3 separate regions of the Homo sapiens genome follow, and regions 1 and 3 are each linked to region 2. Evidence: promoter capture Hi-C in 16 types of primary human blood cells and fetal thymus (Javierre and others, 2016). All regions are on one chromosome and are shown on one strand. The core of a region is centred on a gene start or on the middle of the fragment in contact, and the rest is flanking DNA. Distances in the headings are between cores, read along the strand shown.

Evidence for each region. The method cuts DNA at HindIII sites, captures the fragments that hold promoters and counts their contacts. A CHiCAGO score of 5 or more calls a contact.
Region 1: a fragment that was not itself captured here is called in contact with the fragment with the promoter of NFX1 in region 2 in 3 of 17 cell types (naive CD4 T cells, total B cells and fetal thymus); the score reaches 6.1 in naive CD4 T cells.
Region 3: a contact is called between a fragment that was not itself captured here and the fragment with the promoter of NFX1 in region 2, in 1 of 17 cell types (monocytes). The highest score is 7.5, in monocytes.

What each region holds. Positions count from the first base shown.
Region 1 is chr9:33,818,852-33,821,985 of GRCh38, forward strand. All of the region lies in intron 1 of UBE2R2 (ubiquitin conjugating enzyme E2 R2), which reads left to right. UBE2R2-AS1 (UBE2R2 antisense RNA 1) reads right to left here and starts at 17. Exons shown (of 5, transcript NR_170204.1): 1 at 1-17. The HindIII fragment of the contact is 284 bases long and covers 1,481-1,764 here.
Region 2 is chr9:33,288,754-33,291,876 of GRCh38, forward strand. It overlaps NFX1 (nuclear transcription factor, X-box binding 1), which reads left to right and starts at 1,763. Exons shown (of 24, transcript NM_002504.6): 1 at 1,763-1,844. The coding sequence starts at 1,820. It also overlaps the pseudogene LOC100862682. RefSeq lists enhancers at 1-653, 1,359-1,778, 1,789-1,838, 1,808-3,007, 1,989-2,038. The HindIII fragment of the contact is 6,050 bases long and covers 1-3,123 here.
Region 3 is chr9:32,568,582-32,571,694 of GRCh38, forward strand. It overlaps NDUFB6 (NADH:ubiquinone oxidoreductase subunit B6), which reads right to left. Exons shown (of 4, transcript NM_002493.5): 2 at 2,379-2,471. Among named protein-coding and RNA genes, the nearest start is that of NDUFB6, 3.0 kb to the right of the region's middle. The HindIII fragment of the contact is 3,670 bases long and covers 1-3,113 here.

The DNA.
Region 1 (3,134 bases), core at 373-2,872, 530 kb after region 2:
CTCTGGGTGGGATGTATGGTTCCTTAGCGACCACAGACATTGTTTCTGTTGTTTTATATGGTCTTAGAACAGTGGTTATCATTCCAGAATCTAATGATTTTTTTTTAACTCCAAGGTAGTTAACTTGGAGATAATGAGTGTTTGTTTTGTTTTGTTTTTACTTGAGTGTTTTTGCAGGGAGGAATCACAGATTGAAAGTCTGAATATTTTAAATGATGGGGGCAGAGAGAGGAAATGAGTGCTTAGGAATCCATTTAGTTTTATTTTTTTATTTTCAAAATTAAGTAAAATAGGCCAGTGAGTCAATTTTAGTTTGGAAGGGAGGGGTTATCTTGGCACAAGTTTTAAATGAGTATCTTAGTCATGTAGTTGTGATGTGTATTTTTAGGACTACCCAATTACTTAACTCTTGTTTTCTACCCTTCTAAAGGTGGAAACCTCAGTTTTATGCTTGAAATTAGGTCAACTTTGTAGGAAATGGGATTGATACAGGAATGTTTAATATTCACTACTGTATATAGTCACTGAGTACCTAGGAAAAGCACGTTTTTAGAATATTATGTAAGTGCGGTACCCCTACCAACTGTTAGGCTTCATCTTTTGTGGTCAGCCTACCCTATACTTTTCAGATGGAGGTATTTAAAATTACTAAGAAAACATGCAACTTATTAGTAACAAAGTGGAAAAGATATTGCTGTGTTTATGATGAAGCATATTCTCTGTTGTCAAATATAAATTTTTATGCATACTGGAAAAATTAGTTGTACAAAATTGAATGTATGTGATACCTTTCTTTTTTTTTTTTGAGACGGAGTCTCGCTCTGTCACCCTGGCTGGAGTGCAGTGGCGCGATCTCGCCTCACTGCAACCTCCGCCTCCCAGATTCAAGCTATTCTCCTGCCTCAGCCTCCCAAGCTGCTGGGACTACAGGCGCACGCCACCACGCCCAGCTAATTTTTGTATTTTTAGTAGAGATGGGGTTTCACCATATTGGCCAGGCCGGTCTCGAACTCCAGACCCTGTGATCAACCCGCCTCTGCCTCCCAAAGTGCTGGGATTACAGGCGTGAGCCACTGCGCCCGGCCATGATGCCTTTTCTGACAAAACATTGTTTAGCAAAATCTGCTGGCTAATGTTAGTGGAATAAAGTTTGATTTCCAAAAAGTGTCATTGTTTGGTACAACCGATATTTAAAATAAATAAATGGGTACTAGTTAGAATAATCTCACTCCAATAAAGTTAAAAACAAGAGCAAACAAAACAAAACAAAACAAAACTTGTACATGAGAGAAAATAATGGGTTGCAAGTTGTAATATTTGTGCATAAGTCTGGGAAAGGAGTGTGGAGAACCCTCTCTGAAATAGGAAGTATGGAAGGATTCCTTGTGTTAATACACTGATTTAAATTAAATGCTTCTGAACTTCAGTCCTTGTTTAAAAGAATGATTTAATCTCGTGCTTTGTGATGTTAGATTTCTTAAGCTTTGAGTGTTTTTACCTTTAATTCTGACATGTATGAAAATTTGTAAACAGGTTTTATGGTTTAGTCTTGTGTGAGAAGTTTGTTCGATTGTATTTTCGACTACTTTTTCCCTTATATGGCCTTTTATCCCATTAGTTGTTCATTAGAAAAAGGCAAATTTATGGTCATGAGCAGTTGACACTGGGGATATGTTTAAAACCATTGTTTTTATTTTACTGCTTTTGTCTTAAGACAAGGCTTTTAGTGTATTTCACTACAGCTGCAGTTGAAAGTTGGCACAAAGCTTTCCCTACCATATCACTCTTCTCCCTTATTAAATGTTAGTCCTTGAACATTTAGTATAATTTATTTTCAAGTTAAACTCTTTTCCCTTTTTGGCATAGTCATTCGTGAAGGCAGTGGGACTGCCAGTCATTCTTTACATTTTTCATACTGTAATTCCTTTAACTTTTATATATTAATAGGTTTCTAACTGATCTTTTTCACCCTGAAATAGTTGGCTCTTGTCTCTTACCCACAGGATCTGCATTGGAGATTTGTGAGACCTGTATTTCACAGAATTTTTTTATTCATCCTGCTTTCGCTTATTTAATATCGCCAATCCACGTGATTCTTAGTTTTGGGCCATATAGATGTAGGATGGGCAAAGATAGTTTCTTCTGTCCATTCTGAATACTATACAATCTTTTTTGGCCTTACTATCTTTTTGTGTAGTTTCTTATTTTGCTACCTAAGCAAGTCGGAATTTTATTGTTACTAGAAAAATAAATTGTGGATCAAGTCAGTAGCTAATGAAGACTTTTAACAAGTTCACCCCCTTTCTTTTGAAAGGAACTTTTTCAGGGTCTTTCTCTGTCACTTAGTTTGGGGTACAGTGGTGTGATCATGGCTCACTGCAGCTTCCACATCCTAGGCTCAAGCAGTCCTCCCACCTCAGCCCCCTGAGTAGCTGGGACTACAGGCATGACTACGCCCGGCTAATTTTTTTTTCTTCAGTATTGTTAAGTGAGGTAGGGTCTCACTATTTTGTCCAGGCTGGTCTCAAACTCCTGGGTTCAAAGGATCCTCCTTTCTCAGCCACCCAAAGTGCTGGTTTTACAGGCGTCAGCCACCATGCCCGGCTGGAACTATCTTTTCAAATAACTCCTGCTAAGGATTGTAGCTTAGTGTGGGTGCTTTAGTACTGAACCTCCTTGGAACTTTTGCATTATTTATCTAAAGCATTATAGCAGTGAGTCTAGAGCCAGAAAGAGTGCCTCTTTTATGATATGCATAACAAAAAAAAATTTTTTTTTTTTTTGAGATGGAGTCTCACTCTTTTGCCAGGCTGGAGTGCAGTGGCACGATCTCAGCTCACTGCAACCTCTGCCTCCTGGGTTCAAGCGATTCTCTTGCCTCAGCCTCCCGAGTAGCTGGGATTACCGGCGTGCGCCATGAAACCTGGCTAATTCTTTTTGTATTTTTAGTAGAGACAGGGTTTCACCATGTTGGCCAGGCTGGTCTTGAACCCCTGACCTTAAGTGATCTGCCCATCTCAGCCTCCCAAAATGTAATCCTAATTAGAGGCCTGAGCCACCACTCCTGGCCAACCTTTTATAGTTTTGATTTTATTAAATAATTTGATTGAGGTAATGAAATATAGATGTGTTCC
Region 2 (3,123 bases), core at 513-3,012:
CTTGTTTGCGTTTCTGGCCCTCGTCCTCCCTGCCTCTCCTCTGCCTCCCCAACCCCCGCCTACCTACTGCTCCCAGGGGTCTCTCCAGGGGCAGGGGGATTTCAGGAGATGGGGTGGGGGCCAGCCCCTACTGGACCCTTGTAATCTGATTTGAAGACCATCCCCCTGATGGGACCAGCAGCCCCGCTGGCCCACTGGGGGTCCCTCTTAACATCTGCTTGTTGTGGGGGTCAGTGCCACGGTCTGCTGGGGTCTTGGCACTGTCTTCCTGGCCGGGGCCTGGCACCTTAGCCCCCAGCCGGCCCGAGTGGGGGATATCGACACCCCCAGCTAAAGCACAAGCACCTTAGTCATCCCTCCTCTCCCCCTGCCTCCTGGCCTGCCACCCCACCCCAGCGTTTACCCCAAAGCACAATGCCCTGGTCACTTGGCAAGTGGCTGGGCCTGACGGAGGCCAAGGGGCAGACCGGGGCTCCAGCCAGACCCCCGAAAGGAAGCAGGTGCTCCCCCACTTCCAGGACTTAGTTGGGGCGGGGGGCCCAGCTCCTGGGCCTAGGGTCTTCTCACCCCCACCCCCTTGTCCTGGGTAGGCCCCTGCCTGCCCCTCTCTGCCTTTTCCTCGGGTGTCCCTCCTCGAGCCCCTGCGGCACTGGCTTGGGTGGCAGAGCCCACTTGTTTCAGGGACCCCAGGAGGTGGTGCCCCCTGGCTCCTGGGACTGTGTGTGGGTCTGGGGGGTGGGGGGGTGGGGAGAAGCGTCGGGCAGGGGGTGCAGGGGAGGAAACTCCTCACCAGGAAAGCCAAAGACAGGGTTGTGCCTTACCTCAGGAGCCACCCGTTCCCCCTTGCCCTGCCGTTCACCCTCCACCTTTCCCCCCGGGCGGCCTGCTGCTTTTTCCTTCTCTTCCTCCCCTGCCCTGCCCTGAGCTGCATGGTTCCCCTACCCTGGGAAGCCAGGAAGGAATCTGAATGGAGAATCACCAACCACCAAAGAAAAAAAGACTGCGGGGCCCTCCCCTGCCAACTCCCCTTCCCTGGCCGCCCACTCACCCACACCTCTTTCACGCAGGACAGGCTGCCCACCCTGTCCACGTGAAGTGCCAACGCCCTCCCCACCCTGGGCCGAGCCCCCACCCCTCCCTGGGCCCCCAAGTGAGATTGCACATTTAACTACTGTAAGGAGAGGAGCGGCGTTGGCAAATGTGAACCATGAGAATATCGGTGATACTGATGAGAATAAACGCCTTTGTAAAAAAAAAAAAAAAAAAAAAAGTCTGGAGCCAGGCGTGGTGGCTCGCCTGTAAGCCAAGCACTTTAGGAGGCCAAAGCGGCAGGATCGCTTGAGGCCAGGAGTTGGAGAGACTAGCCTGGGCAACATGGCGAAACCCGTCTCTACTAAAAATAGCTGCGCATGGTGGCTCCGCCTGTAGTTCCAGCTACCGGAAGGCTGAGGCGGGAGGATTAGAGACTGAAGCTATAGTGAGCCATGATCAGACCACTGCACTCAAGCCTGGGTAAGGCAGCAAGACCCTATATCAAAAAATAAAAAAAGGAAAACCACAATGATTACGCAAGTCGCCGCCCTCCCTCCTGCGATTGTTGCTATTTCCATCCAGCTACTAGTCTCCTCCTCCCGCCCGACACCTGGCGCGTCTATCTGACGTCACGAACGCGCCACACAGATTCGGGCTGCGCAACCTCTGTGGCCGTCTACACGGCGCGCAGATGCGAATATTCTCGCGGCGCCGGAAGTCCGGGGCACGTGACCTGGTGACAGTGCTGACTTGGCTGTACAGCTCGATCTAGGTTCTGCGGCACGGGATGGCGGAGGCGCCTCCTGTCTCAGGTATTGTCCCGGCCCGAGCGGGACTGGGCCCCTTTCAGGGAGCGGAAATTGGGTCAGTGACGAAGTTCTAGGGCCTCAGCCACTCATATCGCGAGAGTAGCACATGCTAGGGCGTAGGATAGTGGCTCGGAAGGGCCAAGCCCCGCGCATCGTGCGTACGAAGATCTGTGTCTTCTTGGACTAGATGGTGAAGCCCAGTAGCTGGGTTTCGGAGGAGAGAGGACTTGTCCCGGCGCTGCGAGTCGATGTGGGTGCCCTGCCTTCCCACAGGCTGTTTCTGGGGCAGCGGCGCACTGACCTTCGACAGGCGGGCGTCGGCCAGGTCACAGCCAGTGACGGTGGCGGGCTCTTGACGTGTAGGGTGTGGTGTGCTCATACCGCCTGGAGTGGTGGCGTGGGCGCGAGCCGAATTCCAGTAGTTTAGAGTCTCAGCCTGCTGCGAACCCCGTGTGACTCAGTCTCAGTCTCCTCATCTGTCAGTTGGGAGTAGATAAGTTAATTCCTGTGATGGCTCCCGCCCTGTACTGTACCTATTCTGTAATTGTTCACTCACTCCCCCTCCTGGAGTTGCCTCAGTGTGTAGAGACAGCCTCATTTGTTCGTTGATATAACATCCATTTCCTCAGGGTGTTCCATAGATCAGTGTTTTCCAAATGTGTTGGACAGCAACCAAAAGAAACATTTTGCATCGCGACCTTAAATATTGTACACTTACATAAATATAAAAGCGAACCAGAAGTTTCTGGAAGCAGTGAGGTTGGTTGGTTTGTTTTACAATCAGCAATATATTCTGTTTTCTGTTTCGTTTAAAAATATGTCACAGCCCACTGCCTTCATTTGATTTTATGGCCCACTCTGGAAAACAGGGCAGCAGTTTGCAGAATGGAGTTTGGAAACCATTGGTTTGAATCTCAGCTCTGTCCCTGACCAGCCGTTGGGGCACCAAGAAGACCATATATGTATTTGTATACTGGGTGGCAGGTAAAATGTATTTATTACTATGGTTCTTAGTTTAAAAAGTTAGGGCCGGGCGTGGTGGCTCACGCCTGTAATCCTAGCACTTTGGGAGGCCGAGGTGGACGGATCACGAGGTCAGGAGATCGAGACCATCCTGGCTAACACGGTGAAACCCCGTCTCTACTAAAAATACAAAAAATTAGCTGGGCATGGTGGCACGCGCCTGTAGTCCCAGCTACTCCGGAGGCTGAGGCAAGAGAATTGCTTGAACCCTGGAGGCGGAAGTTGCAGTGAGCCAAGATCGTGCCACTGCACTCCAGCC
Region 3 (3,113 bases), core at 353-2,852, 720 kb before region 2:
AGAGATATCTTTCGTGAAAATAAAAGTCAATCGATGTGGCAAACCTCAGTGTTGTCTCATATACATATATATATATGTATATATGTACATATACTTATATATGTATATACGTATGTATATATATGTGTATGTATATGTGTGTGTGTGTGCATATATATATATATATATTTTTTTTTTTTTTTTTTTTGAGATGGAGTCTTGCTCTGTTGCCCAGGATGGAGTGCAGTGGTGCAATCTCAGCTCACTGCAACCTCCGCCTCCCGGGTTCAAGCGATTCTCCTGCCTCAGCCTCCCGAGTAGCTGGGATTACAGGCACCCACTACTACTCCCAGCTAATTTTTGTATTTTTAGTAGAGACAGGGTCTCACCATCTTGGCCAGGGTGGTCTTGAACTCCTGACCTCGTGATCCACCTGCCTTGGCCTCCCAAAGTGGTAGGATTACAGGCGTGGGACACCGCGCCCCGCCTGCTATCTTATATTAAGAAATTGCCACAGCCACTCCAGCCTGCAACAACCATCACCCTGATCAGTCAGCAGTTATCAACATGGAAGCAAGACCTTCCATTAGCAAAAAGATCATACATAGTCACTAAGGCTCAAATGATCATTAGCATTTTTTAGCAATGAAGTTTTTGTTTTTTTCTTTTTCTTTTTTGAGACGGAGTCTCACTCTGTCGCCAGGCTGGAGTGCAGTGGCACGATCTCAGCTCACTGCAACCTCCACCTCCCAGGTTCAAGTGATTCTTCTGCCTCAACCTCCCGAATAGCTGGGACTACAGGCGCCCGCCACCATGCCCAGCTCATTTTTTTTATTTTTAGTAGAGGTGGGGTTTCACCATGTTGGCCAGGATGGTCTCGATCTCTTGACCTCGTGATCCACCCGCCTCAACCTCCCAAAGTGCTGGGATTACAGGCATGAGCCACCGTGCCCGGCCTGTTTTTTCTTTTTAAGGCAGCATATCAACCTGGCACCTAGGCCAGAGTGCAGTGGCACAATCACAGTTTATTGCAGCCTCGAAATCCTGGGCTCAAGCAATCCTCCCATCTCAGCCTCTTGAGTAGCTGGGATTATAGGTGTGGACCACTACATCCAGCTATTTTTTTTTCTTTTTTTTTGGAAACATGGAGTCTCACTATGTTGCCCAAGCCGGTCGAACTTCTGGCCTCAAGCAATCTTCCTACCTTGGCCTCTCAAAGTGCTAGGGCTACAGGTGGGAGCCACCACACATGGCCCAGCAATAAAGTATTTTTAAATTAAAGCATATACATCGTTCTTTTACACTGCTATTACACACTTATACCACAGCACAGTGTAAACATAACTTTTATATGCACTAGGAAGCCAAAAAATTTGTGTAACTCGTTTTGGTGGTCTAGAACCAAAGAATACTTTTGGAACTGCATTGTTCTACAACCAATTCTGAAATATCTCTGAGGTATGCCTGTATTTGGCCAATCTCCCTATATATAACCCATCTCCTGTCACCACAACCACATCCCAGCATTAATACCTGCCTCACCTCATTCAGGTTCTGACATCTTGCTCTGAGTTACCACTTGCCTCACTGCCTCATACCATCCTTCTTCCAGATGTCCTCCTCCCTCTGCTCAGGTACCAATATCCTATACTAGGCTGTTGCCACTGTTGCTCCCCAAACAGATGTGCTCACCCTCCTCCCCTGCAACCCACTGAGGATCTAACACCCCTCTCTTGGTATACGAATGCCCTCCTCACTCTTTTGTGCTCCAACACTTCAGGCTACGCAGTCACCACTGCTCCCTCTGCCACGCCACTTCCCAAAATGCATGCCCTTCTCATTCTGCCTGGGATCCAACACCCTGCACCAGACCAAGCCTTTAAAATACCACAACTGGCTCAGTTCCATCAGCCCATGCAAGATCTGTATCAGTGAAAAAGTGCAGGCATCTGGACATCCTGAGTTCTAAATAAATAAAAATTGTGAAGAATCAGATAAAATGAAGGGAACAGAAATTGGGTGATGACAAAGATATGCTTTGTCTATTTTGAATTTTTACCTTATACGAGATACAGGTTTTTAAAAAGGAGCAGAATTGTTTTCTCCCTTCCTATTCATGACTCCAAATTTACCCTAGTATTATTAGGTCACTACATTCTTATCACTTAAATACTAATTTCTATGAGGAAATCCATTTCAAGTTGTAAACTAGTGACAATATTTTTTAAAAACTATACCCAATTATGTAACTTTCATTAAACCTTTTACCTAAGAGAATTCAAAGTACTTCAAAATCTGTTTATAAGTGGCAGATTATTTCCACTAAGTAGGGTAAGATAGCCACAAAGAAAGTAATTTTGGACAATATTAAAAATGAATTCTGAAAAGGACATACTTACAGAAACATGATACTTCATGTAATAATGAATAATCCAGACAGGTACAAGTACATGAGTGAAAACAAAGATACTCTTTTTGTATACCCCATGGACCTGGGGGGAAAAACACATACACAAAATAAACATATCCCATTTTTTATATTTATGGCAGAACAAAAGGCATCAATGATGTAACAATGCCATGACTATTTTACAAAACTCTAAATGGCACATATTTTCTTATAGTCTGTAGGTAACCTCATCTACTCAAATATTCTTAGTAAATGCAGAGTCTGCTAGAAGATACCTACAAAGTCCAGACCAAAATGCTTAAGCAGTATTTTGCAAGACTATAACAAGGCATTTATAGATTTTTTAAAGACTTCCAAAAATATCCTTATTATAAGTTTGTTAAAGATAAAATATAGCAAAATAATGAAAGAATAATTTTAATGTATTTAACCAGAGTAATCAAACCTACAGAATTTTTCAGGTATAGTCATCTCCCTTATTTATTGATCAATGACACTCACATCATTTTAGGTATAAGGCAGACAACCTTGACAACGCCAATGCTGGAAAAAGGACGTTTTACATACTAAGATGGGGTGTCCCAAACTCACTCCAAAATGCCCTCTGCAACACTATTTTAAAAAAGAACTAAAAATGGAACTTTCCCATGTCTTCCAACTTGATTAAAAAACACCTATCCATTCAAGGAAGGGACAATCCAGAATCTAAGAATTATAACAGATA